Linked DNA regions of Homo sapiens: region 1 is linked to region 2. Evidence: promoter capture Hi-C in 16 types of primary human blood cells and fetal thymus (Javierre and others, 2016). All regions are on one chromosome and are shown on one strand. Each heading gives the region's core, a stretch centred on a gene start or on the middle of the fragment in contact. The rest is flanking DNA. Distances are from core to core; before and after follow the strand shown. Region 1 holds the start of ZNF398 (zinc finger protein 398). Region 2 holds the start of ZNF746 (zinc finger protein 746).

Evidence for each region. Contacts are between HindIII fragments. The CHiCAGO score rates a contact against its expected background, and 5 or more counts as called.
Region 1: a contact is called between a fragment that was not itself captured here and the fragment with the promoter of ZNF746 in region 2, in 10 of 17 cell types (neutrophils, fetal thymus, total B cells and 7 more). The highest score is 10.8, in neutrophils.

The regions. Positions count from the first base shown.
Region 1 is chr7:149,143,333-149,150,324 of GRCh38, reverse strand. It overlaps ZNF398 (zinc finger protein 398), which reads right to left and starts at 2,872. Exons shown (of 6, transcript NM_170686.3): 1 at 2,559-2,872. The coding sequence starts at 2,582. LOC107986856 (a long non-coding RNA gene) reads left to right here and starts at 2,964. Exons shown (of 2, transcript XR_007060581.1): 1 at 2,964-3,342; 2 at 3,973-6,992. RefSeq lists silencers at 1,958-2,007, 2,148-2,297, 2,592-2,763, 2,428-3,067 and enhancers at 2,373-2,946, 3,378-3,427, 3,521-4,094, 4,095-4,668, 4,669-5,242. The HindIII fragment of the contact is 4,715 bases long and covers 1,586-6,300 here.
Region 2 is chr7:149,491,942-149,499,280 of GRCh38, reverse strand. It overlaps ZNF746 (zinc finger protein 746), which reads left to right and starts at 1,472. Exons shown (of 7, transcript NM_001394198.1): 1 at 1,472-1,768; 2 at 4,778-5,077; 3 at 5,166-5,292; 4 at 6,309-6,422. The coding sequence starts at 1,745. RefSeq lists silencers at 1,108-1,777, 2,018-2,077 and enhancers at 2,211-3,154, 3,949-5,148. The HindIII fragment of the contact is 2,699 bases long and covers 1-2,501 here.

The sequences.
Region 1 (6,992 bases), core at 2,694-5,193, 350 kb after region 2:
ACACAGCCTGAGATTTTGTATTTTTAACAAATTCCCAGGTGATGCTGACACTGAGTAGTAAGACTTGTCTGCTGCAGCCCCCACTCTCAGAAGATGACATGTCCTCTTGCTTTGAGATGGAAATTAATCAGACCTAAATTCATTCAACTTTCTCTTCATACTCCTTGCTTCAAACTTATCAGTAACCGAATCTAAGTTTTCTTCTTTACTTCCTAAGGAAGTTGCATCCTATTTAAATCTTAACTCTCCACATTTGCTTCACTTATGCCAACCCCTTCCACCTTTTTGGGTAGGTTGTTCCTTTCTTAGTGTCAATCTGTCTCCTGATTCTTCTCCATAGGGTGGACTGGCACTGTTCAATACAGTAGCCACTACCTACATGTGGCCACTGAGCACCTGAAATGTGGTTAAATTGAGATGTGCTATGAGTATAAAATACACGAGACTTTGAAGACTTAGTATGAAAAAAATATTTGTTTGTTTGCTTGAGACAGGGTTTCACTTTGTTGCCCAGGTTGGAGGGCAGTGGCAGGATCACAGCTCACTGCAGCCTCCACCTCCCTGGCTCAAACACCTCCCACCTCCTGAGTAGCTGGGAGTACAAGTGCATGCCACCACGCCTGGCTAATTTAAAAAAAAAAATTTTTTTTGTAGAGATGGGGTCTTCCTATGTTGCCCAGGCTGGTCTTCAACTCCTGGGCTAAAGCTGTCTTCCCACGGCAGCCTCCTGAAGTGCTTGGGATAACAGGCTTGAGCCACCACACCCGGCCATTAATGTTTTAAATCGATTACATGAGGCCGGGCGCGGTGGCTCACGCCTGTAATCCCAGCACTTTGGATCCCAGCGGGCGGATCACGAGGTCAGGAGATTGAGACCATCCCGGCAAACACGGTGAAACCCCCCTCTCTACTAAAAATACAAAAGGACCCGGGCGTAGTGGCACGCGCCTGTAGTCCCAGCTACTCGGGAGGCTGAGGCAGGAGAATCGCTTGAACCGGCAAGGCAGAAGTTGCAGTGAGCCCAGATGGCGCCACTGCACTCCAGCCTGAGGGACAGAGTGAGACTCCACCTCAAAAAATAAATAAATAAATAAATTGATGACATGTTGAAATAATATTTTGCATATATTGAGTTAGATATATAATTAAAATTAATTTCATCTATTTATTTTTTAACTTCTCAAAAATTTTTTTTATTTTAGAGACGCGGTGTGGACTGCCTCGAACTCCTGGACTCAAGTGATTCTTCCGCCTCAGCCCCCGGCCTAGCTGGGACTACAGGCGTGCACAACACAGCGCCTGGCTTTTTACTTTTTAAACGTGACGCCTAGAGAATTTAAGCAGGGGTGTCCAATCTTTTGGCTTCCCTGGGCCACACTGGAAGAACTGTCTTGGGTCACACATAAAATACTGATCATGATAGCTGATGAGCTAAAAAAAAAAAAAAAAAAAAAAAAAAAAGACAAAGAAAAAGGTCCGTGCATAAATCTCATGATGTTCTAGGAAAGTTTACGAATTTGTGTTGGGCCGCATTTAAAGCAGTCCTAGTCCGCATGCGGCCTGGGGGCCGCGGGTTGGACAAGCTTGATTTAGAGTTTTGTATGCGGCTTCCCTTATATTTCTATTAGCCAGGACTGGCACAACACAGGATCATCGCTACCATCCCACCTATACACAAAAAAAAAGGTTGGAAAAAAGAAAAACAGGTCCAAGAGTGGAGGTGGCACTTCCCTCTGCTCTACCCCCTACCCATCGCTGCTCTTCCTCCTTTTCCCAGTCACCCCTCATGTGCCAGGGTGGCTCCTGACCCAGTACAATTGCTCTCCTAGAGGTGACCAAAGACCTCTTGGGTGGCAAATGCGATCAGTGCTTTCCCCGCGGCCTGACCGTCCCCTTCTCATTCTACGGGGCTGCGTGCAGGCGCGGCCCGGTCGCCTCGGTCGCCCTGGCAACTGGCCGCTGCCGGCCCCCGCAGGCCTTGGCAAACACCCGCGAATGAACCGCCACGCACGCGAGGCCACTCCAGCCTCCGGGTCCGCACCATTCATTCGGCAGCTATTTCGGGAGGGCCTCCCGCGTGTCCCGAGTCCGGTGCCGGGAGCCCAGGCGTCACGCAGCGCGGCGGGAATGCGCCTCCGCACACTTAAATGCCGCCCGCGCCACCGCTCAGATTGCTGGTGACGAACGCTCCCGCGGCCGCGAGAATGGCTGACGGCTCCCCAGCCCAACCCCGCTGCGCGTCTGGCGGGCAGGCGTGGGGCTGACACGCAGCAGGCACCCCCTCGACTTCAACCCAACTGCAGGGCCCCGGGTCTCATAGCTGCCTGCGAGTGCCCCTCAGACCTGCGGCCCAGCCTGGTGTCCCCGGGTGGGCGGTTTCACACCCACCCGCTAAGTCCCCTCACGCGAGGCTGCAGCCGCCAAGCACGGGCGACAGGCGACGTGGCCGGCGGGACCCGAGAACGGCGCCTATGCCTGGCAGCTCCCTGCCCGCCCGCCTTCCTCCCTCGGGGTCTGGGTCTCGGGGGCTCACAACACTCGCGCGCGGCCGCCCTTACCGGGGCCGGGGCCGCCTCAGCCATGGCCCTGCGCTGTCTAGCCCGGGCCTCGGAAGTCGCCGCCGCTGCCGCCGCTGCCACCGCGCCCGGCTCCAAGCAGGCCCGGCCGCCGGGTCCTCTCCACAGGCGGCGCCGACCCGGCCCTGCCTTCCCCGCACGGACGGGACTCACGCGGCCGTCGGGGCTCGGGACGCGCAGGAACGCGGCGGAGGCGCGGTGCAGCAGGCGGCGGATCAAGCTGGGGTCGCGAGGCCGACTCCGCCGCACTCCACCCGCAGCGGCCCCTCAGCTGGCGCTTTGTGGGCAGCGAGTGCACCGGGAACCGCGCGGGCCTAGACGCGCCGCAGGCTCGCGCTGCCCAGCCACCGCGGCCAGCGCGCCCCCTGCCGGCCCCTGCGGCCAGCGCCCCCCGCGTCGCCTCCGCCCCTCCCCCCCAGCTCTTGGGCTTCGGTGTGGGGAGGGTTGTTATTTGGGGCCCACGTGTGTTCCGCTTTCTCACATTCCCACGAGAAGGTTCAGCTCACCGCAGTTTAGGACCCAGCCGCAAAGCCGGGCTCATTCTGGGGAGTGATTTTCTTCACGGAGGCTCGATACGCAGGCGCCGTCTGCAGGCAACAGCTTCTGCTGAAGGGCAGCCGTATTTAGAACAGCGGAAATGTGCAGGGTGAGAGTAAGGGGGACACGGCTGAAGGGAGCCTATGGGTGGAATGAGTGACGGAGAGGCACAATTTTGGAATGAAGAAGATATAGATCATTTGCGGAAATTACAAATGTGGTTGCCAAGGTGAGGCGGTTCAGGTCCCACGCGGCCTGTGTTGGGATCAATAATATTTTAAGGTCTCCTTCACATCTCGGATTATTGACTCTCCGGGGCCTGGTCTGGAAATAGGATTCTTAATTTTTGTTTATTTATTTATTTAGAGACGGAGTCTCACTCCGTCGCCCAGGCTGGAGTGCAGTGGCGGGATCTCGGCTCACTGCAACCGCCTTCCGGGTTCAACCGATTCTCCTGCCTTTGCCTCCCAAGTAGCTGGGATTACAGGCATGTACCACCATGCCCAGCTAATTTTTTTTTTTTTAAGTGGAGACGGGGTTTCACCATGTTGGCCAGGCTGGTCTGAAACTCCTGACCTCAAATGATCCACCCGCCTTGGCCTCCCAAAGTGCTAGGATTACAAGCGTGAGCCATTGCGCCCGGCCTTATTTATTGATTTATTTAGAGACAGTCTCCCTCTGTCGTCCAGGCTGGAGTGCAAGTGGCACAAACAAGGCTCACTGCAGCCTTAAACTGCTGGGCTCAAACGATCCTTCCCCTCAGCCTGCCCGAGCATCTTGGACTACAGGCGCAGCTACCAAGCCCGGCTAATGTTTTATTTATTTGTATTTATTTATTTACTTATTTATTTTTCTGTAGAGACAGGGTCTCGCTATGTTGCCCAAGCTGGAGGAAGTGGAATTCCTGAGAGCAGCAGAGATCGAGCTTGGGGTTACGGTTTGCTGCGTCTGAGCAAAAGGACCTGCGAGAACAGGCCGAGCGCAGTGGCTCACGCCTGTAATTCCAGCACTTTGGGAGGCCGAGGCGGGCAGATCACCTGAGTTCCAGACCAGCCTGGCCAACATGGTGAAACCCCGTCTCTACTAAAAAATACAAAAATTAGCCGGGCGTGGTGTCGTGCACCTGATATTCCAGCTGCTCCGGAGGCTGAGGCAAGAGAATCGCTGGAACCCAGGAGGCGGAGGTTGCAGTGAGCAGAGATGGCAGCACTGCACTCCACCCTGGGCGACAGAGCTAGACTCCATCTTAAAAAAAAAAAAAAAAAAAAAGGACCTGCGAGAACAAAGTGTTTTCTGGTGAGGTTGTGTTTTAAGTCAACAGAGTGTGTGTAACAGCAGTAGGTTCCTTGCCCAATGCACATAGCAAGTCTATATGCAGAGACACCAGGTTGCAGCAGAGAAAGAGGTCTAATCATAGGGCCACCTAAGGAGGAGACAGGAAGAAGCCTCACATCCATCTCTGCTAGGAATTTGGGAATTTGGGGTTAGAGTTTGTAAGGGTAATGGAGTTGACTGATTGGTGGGAGAGTGCTGGTGAAATCGTGGTACAAGGAGATGAAGAAACTACATTCTCATGCTCATCCCATTCCTCTGTGGGGGGTCTTCAAACTGGTTGAACTCAACTGTTTCACCGGAACTCGTGGTCTGAAAAACATCTTAAGCGATCCTTAAACAAAAGCCTTATGATTCTAATGTCAGAGATCCTGTCTACAGGAACAACAGGGATGCAAATCAATTCTTAGTCTGATGTCTGAAATCCTATCTATAGGAACAATAGAGATGCAAATGTCAGTATCTAGTGCCTTGTGACTATTAGCAACAAGGAAGTAGGCCGAAGTGCAGCCTGATTAATGCTTAATTATAACTATATTTCTGTCCAGAACCTGCATGCAATTTTTGTGAACCCTGTTGGGGCGGTTTCATGTGTGTGGTGATAGGATAAGCACATGACCCTGGTTTTCCAGGAAGTCTTCATTTCAAACATGTATGAATCAAACCCTGCTAAACCTGTATTTCAACACATGAATCAAGTCAATGCCCATAACAGTATAACTATCTGTAAATCACAAAAGTATGAGAACTATCCTGTTGGGGCAACTGCTCTTGAGCAGACTAAGTTACTTTTCGCCTGTGGCTACATATGCAGTCCGTAATTTGGGATTTACCTGAATATACATATTTGTCAGATGGTGAATGCTTAATAATGAAAATTGCCATTCTCTGACTCACAATATGAGTAGATTACAAAAAAATAATAATCTGAATTTTCTTGGAAAGAAAATTCTGTTGTATAATTTTATTATTTAAAATGTAGTAGCCGAGAAGCCGGGCACGGTGACTCACGCCTATAATCCCAGCACTTTGGGAGGCCGAGGTGGGTGGATCGCCTAAGGTCAGGAGTTGGAGACCAGCCTGAACAACACGGTGAAACCCCATCTCTACTAAAAATAGAAAAACTAGCCGGGCGTGGTCGTGGGTGCCTATAATCCTAGCTACTCAGGAGGCTGAGGTAGGAGAATCACTTGAACCTAGGAGGAGGAGGTTGCAGTGAGCGGAGATTGCACCATTGCACTCCAGCCTGGGAAACAAGAGTGAAACTCCATCTCAAAAAAGAAAAAAAAAAATGTAGTAGCCGAGCACAGTGGGAGGCCGAGGTGGGTAGATTGTTGGAGCCCAAGAATTCAAGGCCAGTCAGGGCAACCTGGTGGGACCCTGTCTCCATAAAAAAATACAAAAATTAGCCTGAAATGGTAATGCACACCTGTCGACCCAGTTACTCGGGAGGCTGAGGTAAGATCACTTGAGCCAGGGAGGTTGAAGCTGCAGTGAGCTGTAATAATACCACTGCACTCCAGCCTGGGCGACAGACTGACATCCCATCTCCAAAAAAAAAGTAGTAAAGTTTTCAAGTTTGATGTTATAAGGCAAGAACAACAATTTCTGTCAGATGCTCCTATGGCCATTTAACAGGGACATTTGTATTACTAAATAAGACTTCCAACTGAGCTCCATAGAAAGCAAGGCTACCTCTCTGCTTTAATATGGTAATATTACCACCAACTTATTAAATGTTCCTTCCTTGAATAGGAATATATTAAGACAAGAAATTCTTCCTATTTAATTCTTGGCCTTAAAAATTCTTTGGATGGTACTGGCATTTCATTAAGCAATTTCACTGACTGAAGCTTTTTGTGTACTGTTTAAAGAAGATGCACAATATTTTCAGAAGCAGATGTAAGGTTGTTGTACTAACTTATTTTTAATTTATAATATTTTTGTCTGCTCTTGCTGCTATACATAATCACTAGAGAAAAAAATTGTCCTAAAAGTTTGGATCTAGAAATGTGACTATGAAACAATTTAATTGGCTTTTTTGGGGGGTTGTTTGTTTGTTTTTTGAGATGGAGTTTTTACTCTTGTTGCCCAGACTAGAGTGGAATGGCGCAATCTCTGCTCACTGGAACCTCTGCCTCCCGGGTTCAAGTGATTCTCCTGCCTCAGCCTCCCAAGTAGCTGGGATTACAGGCATGCGCCACCATGGGGGCTAATTTTGTATTTTAAGTAGAGACGAGGTATCACCATGTTGGCCAGGCTGGTCTCGAACTACTGACCTCAGGTGATCTGCCCACCTCGGCCTCCCAGAGTGCTGGGATTACAGGCGTGAGCCACCGCACCCTGCCAATTGGTTTTTGAGTTAACAAAATAATCCCAGTTTCCATCTGCATCTTGACTTTCCCTGCATATGCACACCAATTTCAGCATCTTCCTTTGCACAGAATCAAGGACAGATTTTTTTCAGCATGTATGATGTAAAAAATACACTGATGGCACATCAATTTATTCAGCAAGTTCCAACAAACTCTTTTGTCTTCAAGCAAC
Region 2 (7,339 bases), core at 223-2,722:
TTCAAGCGATTCTCGTACCTCAGCCTCCCCAGTAGTTGGGATTACAGGTGCGTGCCACCACGCCTCGCTAATTTTTTCTATTTTTAGTAGAGACGGGGTTTTGTCATGTTGCTCAGGCTGGTATCAAACTCCTGAGCTCAGGCAATCCACCCATCTTGGCCTCCCAAAGTGTTAGAATTACGGGCGTGAGCCACTGCGCCCGGCCCTAAAATGCTTTATATCTTCCTACATCAATTTTTTTTTGGGCTGTCATCCAGCTCACACCTCTACTACCACCCTCTGGTCTGAAATGCTCTCTGCCTATCAATATTTTGCCAATTCTTCAAGATCCAGCTCAAATTTTATCTATTCTGTAAGGTCTGCCTTCTTTGAAAAAGATTACAGATCTCTCACATATTTTCTTATCAGTGTGTGCTAGGCAGTTGGCTAGTTAGTCTTGGGGAATACACAGATGAGCAAGTCGTGTTCCTGAAAGGCAATGAGCCTCTGAAACTACGTGGGGGCCCGTCCAAGGCGCCCTCCTTCCCCTGCTCTGGTTGGCCTCTTTGAGAACATTTAAATTTTTATTTTTCTCTCCTTGTTTAAAAATACTATCCTTGTCATGGAAAAATAAAAACATGAATTGGAAAAAATTAGAAAAGGCATAAAAACGGCCCGTGGTCTATTAAAGGAATAGACCTTTAATAGAACTACTGAGGCCATGTTGATATATATGCTTCCAAACTTTTCAAAACTGTAATTATACATGTACGCAGTATATGACGCTACATATGTCCTATATTGTTTTAAAATGTTATTTTTAAAACAAAGACAGGATCGTCCTGGACAGGCTTTTTCTCTTAAAACATCATGAACATCTGTTCCTACCAAGACCTTCACCGAAATCATTTTAAATGATGGTATTGCGTCCCATTGCTCATGCCATTAAAAAAATTTACTGTAATAAACCCATTACAGAAAATGCTAAGTGGTTGCCTACCGGGGTTTACCGAACTATATTCCTGTTGTTGGAAGTATTTATTCCATTTCAAACACAGGTGGGCATGAGTTACATCTGTCCTCCCCAAAATAGCCTAAACCTCCAGACCCAGGACCTCGGGCAGCAGAAGTGCCCGTGGGGCGGGGGAAGGGGAGCCGGGCATCCCAGGGCGAGGGGGCCGCCCTGGCCGCGGTCACCCGGGGGACGCCCTGCCCGGAAGCCCGTGCTCGCCCGCGGGCGCGGCCAGGCGGGTCCCATGAGGGGGACCCTTTCAATAACCGAGTCCTCGGGCTGGGCCGCGGGGCCAGCGCAGTGACTCCCCCCGCGCTCGGCAGTCCGGCCGGGGTCGCGGGGTCGCGGGGTCGCGGGGTCGGCCCGGGGTCGCTAGGTCCTCCCGTCGGGCCCCGCGGGCGGGGCTGGGCGGGGCGGGGCGGGGCCGCGGGCAGGCGGGCGCAGCGCCTGCCGTTCGCCTCTCAGGCTGCAGGTGGGGCTGTGCGGCCGCGCTGCCTCCAGGAAGCCTCACGGGCCTTCGTCTGCCGGGCCGCGGCGCCGGCTCCCAGGATGCAGTGTGGACCGGCCGGGCGCTGACGGAGGCGGCGCGACTGCGGGCGGCGCGGCGCAGGGGCAGCCAGCGAGGAGCGGCGGCAGAGGAAAGGCCAGGCAGGCGCCGCCTGCGGAGAGCACCGGGCGGCCGGGCCTGCGTGGTGCCGCGCGCGGCGGCGGCGACGACGACTTCCTCCGGGCCGGGCGGGACAGCGCAGGGCCATGGCCGAGGCGGTCGCGGCTCCGGTAAGGGCGACCCGCGCGCGCAGGGACTCGCGGCCTGGGGGCCCCAGGCGGCCCGGCCCCGGCACACGGCGCCGCAGGCCCTGGGGAGGGGTTCCGGGGTCCGGGCCGGACCACCGGGCCTGGGGCTCCCGCGAATGGGGCGCGGGGTCCGCCGGGGCCTACTGCGCCCGTCGGCCGGGCCCCCACTCCGAGCCGAACCCGAGCGCTGGCGGAACGGTTGTCCCCGCCCCGGGCCGCCCCACGCCAAGTTCTTTGGGCCCTCCGGGGCTTCCTGCCCCCGCCCCAGCCGCTGTCCCCTCCTTCTGGGTGCCCCCCCACCCGCGGCTCCTTTCTCTGCCTGGCGCTCGGCCTGTAGGTCCCTCTCCATCTCCCCCGCAGCGGCCTGGTGGCACCTGGGAGGTGTCCGGCTTCGAATCCGCATACACCGACTCCCACTACGTGCCCAGCTTCCCGGGGTCGGCGCGGAAGGGAATATAGAGCCACGCACTTCCACAAGCCCTGTTGAGGCGTTAGTCTGTCCTCACAGCAAGCCTGTGGGATGGGTACTGGTGTTAATCTCTGTCATACAAAAGAAAAACCCGGGGCCTAGAGAACTTAACTTGCCCAGGCTTACCCAGCTGGAAAGTGTGAAAAGACACACAGTGGCTGTGTGTTCAAGGACCAGGCAGGCAGGTACGCGGGCAATAATCGTGCAAAACAGAAAGGGGTGAGTGCTGGCGCCCAGGTGGAAGCTTGCGGTGGGCTCCGGGGGAAGGAGTGTCAGGGGGCCTCTTGGTACCGCTGTCCACCCCTCCTGGCCTGATGCTCTGCGCCTCTGTGATTTGAGCCGGGCTTTTAGGGAAGGCTAGGATTTCAGGCCCAGCTAGACCGGTGGTGCTTTCAGGGAGGGAGGAGTGCCTGGGCAAAGGCGCAGAGAGACGGGACAGTGCAGGGCGTGTGCAGGCACAGAAAGGAGTCCATGAGCCTGGAGAAGATGGTTTTGGTTTGGAGGCAGTGGGAAAGGAGTCTGCAGAGAGAGACTAAGAAGGGGTTTGCATGCCTGGACTTCATCCTGCGGGTGGGCAGTGGATGAGGGATCCGGCTCCTCTTACCATCAGCTCCTCTCAAGCAAAGAGTTTCAGCTCCCCTGGCAGGAGTCCAAGGACAGCCCCACATATTCCAGCCACTTGTCAGTAAGAAGCTGGGCTGGAGTGAGCAGCGCACAGTCGCCACCTCCCACCACATAGTGTGAAGACCTTACACAGGGTTTCCTGGCCCCATCAGAACTGTAAGAAAACCATGCACCTTGTTGTCCATGAGTAAAAGACTAATATTTTCTTAATAAAGTAGTTTAGCAGAGGTCCCTTTCATGCCACACAAAGCCCATAATAATGCACGTGGAGGATGGGTAGGATTTCAGTGGATAAGGAGCTGGTGACCAGTTGAAAGGAAGCTTCTGGAGTAAACTCTTGGCGTCTGGGATCACGTGACAGGGATTGATCTGAGAAAGGAGAGGTGAGGGAAGGAACAGTGGCCTTAGGTGGAGGGTGGACTCAAGCCCAGAACCACGCTGGCCCACCCAGGTGCTGTAGGACCACCTACTCCTTGAGAGCAAGACTCCCACCCGCATTGGGGTTTTCGCCTAGAAACAGTTCAGCTTGTCCAGAATCTCCCAGCCTTGAAGACCCCTTAGAGTCCTACCTTCTTTGGGTCCTGCTTCCTTCCAAATAGATAGTATCTTAAGCACTGTCCTAGACAAGTTTGTTTCTCCCTCTGCTCAAACTCTCCTTTTGTCTCTATTTTTTGAGCTGTCCATCCGCATTCTAGTTCTCAGTGACTTTCTCTAAGTGAATCCACACTGGTTTCTAGTAGCTACTTCTTCATTTTGGAAATAATCACCAACCTTTTGTTGAGGAATTATTTTGCAGAATGTTGTAAGGAGGCGTTGATCCTCAGGTCCCGATACCAGGAGCTCCTCTGTGCCCTGTAGGTCCCACATTCAGATGTGGGTGGCTCAAACAGTCCAGCTCCCTACCCACCGCAAAATGTGCCCATTCTTCCTTGTCCCAGCTGCCGGTCACTGATACGCCATGTGAACATTTCCAATGACAGGGAAGGCCCCCGTCTCTAATTAAGATGGTTGCTGTCCATATACAAGTCTAACTGTGGCATATATGTACTTTCCTCACCAGACTGCAGGGTATGTCACTGCTCCTGGTACAGCTACAAAAATGTCGGAGGCCGTCATTTTTACCTTGAGGGGGTGGGAATTGGGAAAGAGAAAGAATCTTGTAGGGCTCAGGCAGTGTCAAAAAGCCTAACTCTGGACTGATGGAGATTTGCAGTCATGGGGATTTTAGCTTGTGGGGGAGGGGCAGATGGGAAGGTGACAAAATGAGACTGTCCTGGGGGAAGAGGAACTGGCCATTAGATTTTTATGTTTGTTAAAAGGGGACATGAGATGCTTTAAAAAACAAAAAAAGAAAAAAGAAATTGAGCAATACTCTTGTTTGTGCCGTTTCAGTGAACCAGCTGTTTTTTTTGCTGGGTCATCATCAGTAGACAGTTCCTGTGTAATCATGAGGGGAGGTGCAGGCTGCGCTCTAGTAAATCTGCAGTTTACCATTTCTCCACTAAAATGCCCAGCAATGCTAAGTCACTGTTTACGTAACAAAATTGCACTGGGTACCTGCCATGTGTCAAGGACAGTGGTATGAAAAGATGCAATACCATGTTCAGGGAGCCCACAGTGTAGGTGTGGGTAGGAAATTATTGTGTAGGGTGATAAGCACCGTGATAAGGGTCTGCATTGTGCTGCAGAGGCCTGGAGTAAAGGCACCCACCCAGACATAGACCTAACATACCCAAGCAGGTGATGGCCAACCTGAGATCTGGCATGTGGTATAGGATAGCCCCACTTGTCCACACATATGGACTCCCAGCCCAACTCCCCCGTGCCTAGGGAGAGAGGGGCTCAATGAAGACAGTGGATGGAATGAGTGATGCCAGTTTCTCTTTTGTTTCTGAAAGATTTCTCCGTGGACGATGGCAGCCACGATTCAGGCCATGGAGAGGAAGATTGAATCGCAGGCTGCTCGCCTGCTTTCCCTAGAAGGTCGAACCGGGATGGCCGAGAAGAAGCTGGCTGATTGCGAGAAGACAGCCGTGGAGTTCGGGAACCAGCTGGAGGGCAAGTGGGCCGTGCTGGGGACCCTGCTGCAGGAGTACGGGCTGCTGCAGAGGCGGCTGGAGAACGTGGAGAACCTGCTGCGCAACAGGAACTTCTGGATCCTGCGGCTGCCCCCGGGCAGCAAGGGGGAGTCCCCTAAGGTAGCCCTGGGACGCCTTGGGGTGTGGGAGCCCAAGCGGCCAAACCCGTGAGCGTGTGGGTGAGCGAGTGTGACACTTGTGGTTCCAGGTGCCCGTGACCTTTGATGATGTGGCCGTGTATTTCTCCGAGCAGGAGTGGGGCAAGCTGGAGGACTGGCAGAAGGAGCTCTACAAGCACGTGATGAGGGGCAACTACGAGACGCTGGTCTCCCTGGGTAAGGCCTGACACTCATTTCTCTGTTAAATGGGATTTTGCAAGTCCTCAGAATTCTCCCTCCACATAGTTGTTTTCATGTCAGTGTTATATAAATCACCAGAAACATTGTTGACCTTGCAAGTTGTTACCTTTTGTGAAGGATGAGCCCTGGGTGATGGAGTTAAAAGCTCCCTTCTCCCTGTGTTGAGTTTCCCAGAATGCCAGTCTGGGAACGGCGGTGGCTTCTCTCCTACGCAGGCCCGGGATGTGGACCTTTCTGTTCTTGCTGACTTGGAGCGGGGAAGGCCCCATCTGCTCTCAGATCCAGTATGTAATTGACTCACATTTGAGAAAGACTCTTTCCTTCAGCCTTCTCCTACAAACATGCGTGGCCCTTACGGCAACATGCCTCGAGGTCAGTGGAGAACATGGGCAGACGGTGCTGCTTGCAGCAGACATTTTCTTCATGCCTCAAAACTTTGCTTCCCTCAGCCCCTGGGGCTACTGCTCTTCTCCTTGTTTAATCCTGCCCAGGAAGGGCCTGGACTCTGTTTCTTCCTGGGCTGGTTTTCTCTTCCTAATGGTTTCTGTGTGACCCCGGAGCCGAGGGCAGTGAGACCTGTTAGAGAGGGCAGGAGCAGGTGCAGACGTGAGGTTGTTTCGTCAGCACAAGTGCACTGCTGTTTAACGTGCACGCTCTGTGGCAGTTTCTTCACCCCGGCACTGTGGACATTTGGGACCAGGTGATTCTGTGTGTCGGCGGCATCCTCTGCATTGTAGGATGTTGAGCAGCAGCCCTGGCCTCTCAGGGCATCTCCAGATGCCAGTCACCTCTCCCCCAGCCCTGGGCATGACAACCAGAATTGTCTCCAGACTTTGCCAGATGCCCCCAGGGAGCAAAATTGCCTGTGGTTGAGAGCTACTGCTTTGTGACAATCAAGAGATTTCATTTCTAGACCATTGTTGGTTTTCCGGGATGACTGTCCCCAGCTTTGACTGGAACGTGGCAAAAACTAACCTTCTGTCTTTCCTCAGACTACGCCATCTCCAAGCCCGAGGTCCTCTCCCAGATTGAACAAGGGAAGGAGCCCTGCAACTGGCGCCGCCCTGGCCCCAAGATTCCAGATGTTCCTGTGGACCCCAGTCCAGGTAAGGGCTGGGAGAAGGCCAGGGAGGCATCAGGTATTGTGCAGGAAACAGAGACGGAAAGGCCAGAAAGGGTGTGATCTTTCCAGAGAGAGTCGAGGAGAAACATGAAACTTACAGGTTTTATGTCTTGAGTTTTTTATAGTTGAGTTTTAATCTCTAACTTAGTCAGCTAATGCTCCAGAAATGAACACTTTCTGTCAGGGAAACAGGTGGCAAACCTAATCTTTTAGGAAGAGACAAAGGCAGGGCACAGGTTGAGGGGAGGGAGAGGAGAACGCTGAGAGGGAAGGCAGGAGCATAGTTGACCCTTAACGCAGGGGCCAGGGGCACCAGCCCCCAGTCCCACGCAGCCAAAAATCTATGTATAACTTTTGACTCTCTAAAAAGTTAACTGCTAGTAGTCTCCTATTAACCAGAAGCCTTATTGATACTATGAACAGTCAATAACACATATTTTGTATGTTCTGTGTGTTACATAGTGATACTTACAATAAGCTAGGGAAAAGAAAATGTTACTAGGAAAATCATAAGGAAGAGAAAATATATTTATTACTCATTAAGTGGAAGTGGAGCATCATAAAGGTCATCCTCCTCATTGTCTTCTTCAGATTGAGTAGGCTGAGGAGAAAGAGGAGTGGTTGGTCTAGCTGTCTCAGGGGTGACAGAAGCAGAAGAAAATCCATTTATAAGTGGGCCTGCATAGTTCAAACCCATGTTGTTCAAGGTCAGCTGTATATTGACAACAAAATTAATCCAAAGCTTTGCAAAGAGTCAGCCTTGCCTCCAAGAACCAACCTTAATTTAAACCAGTAGCAGTTGTAGAGCTACTTTGGTCTACATTGGTCAGCCTTATGGTTTGGTATTATTAGAAGCACACATTTATTTAAGGTGAATCTTGTTACCAGATATCAGCGTCT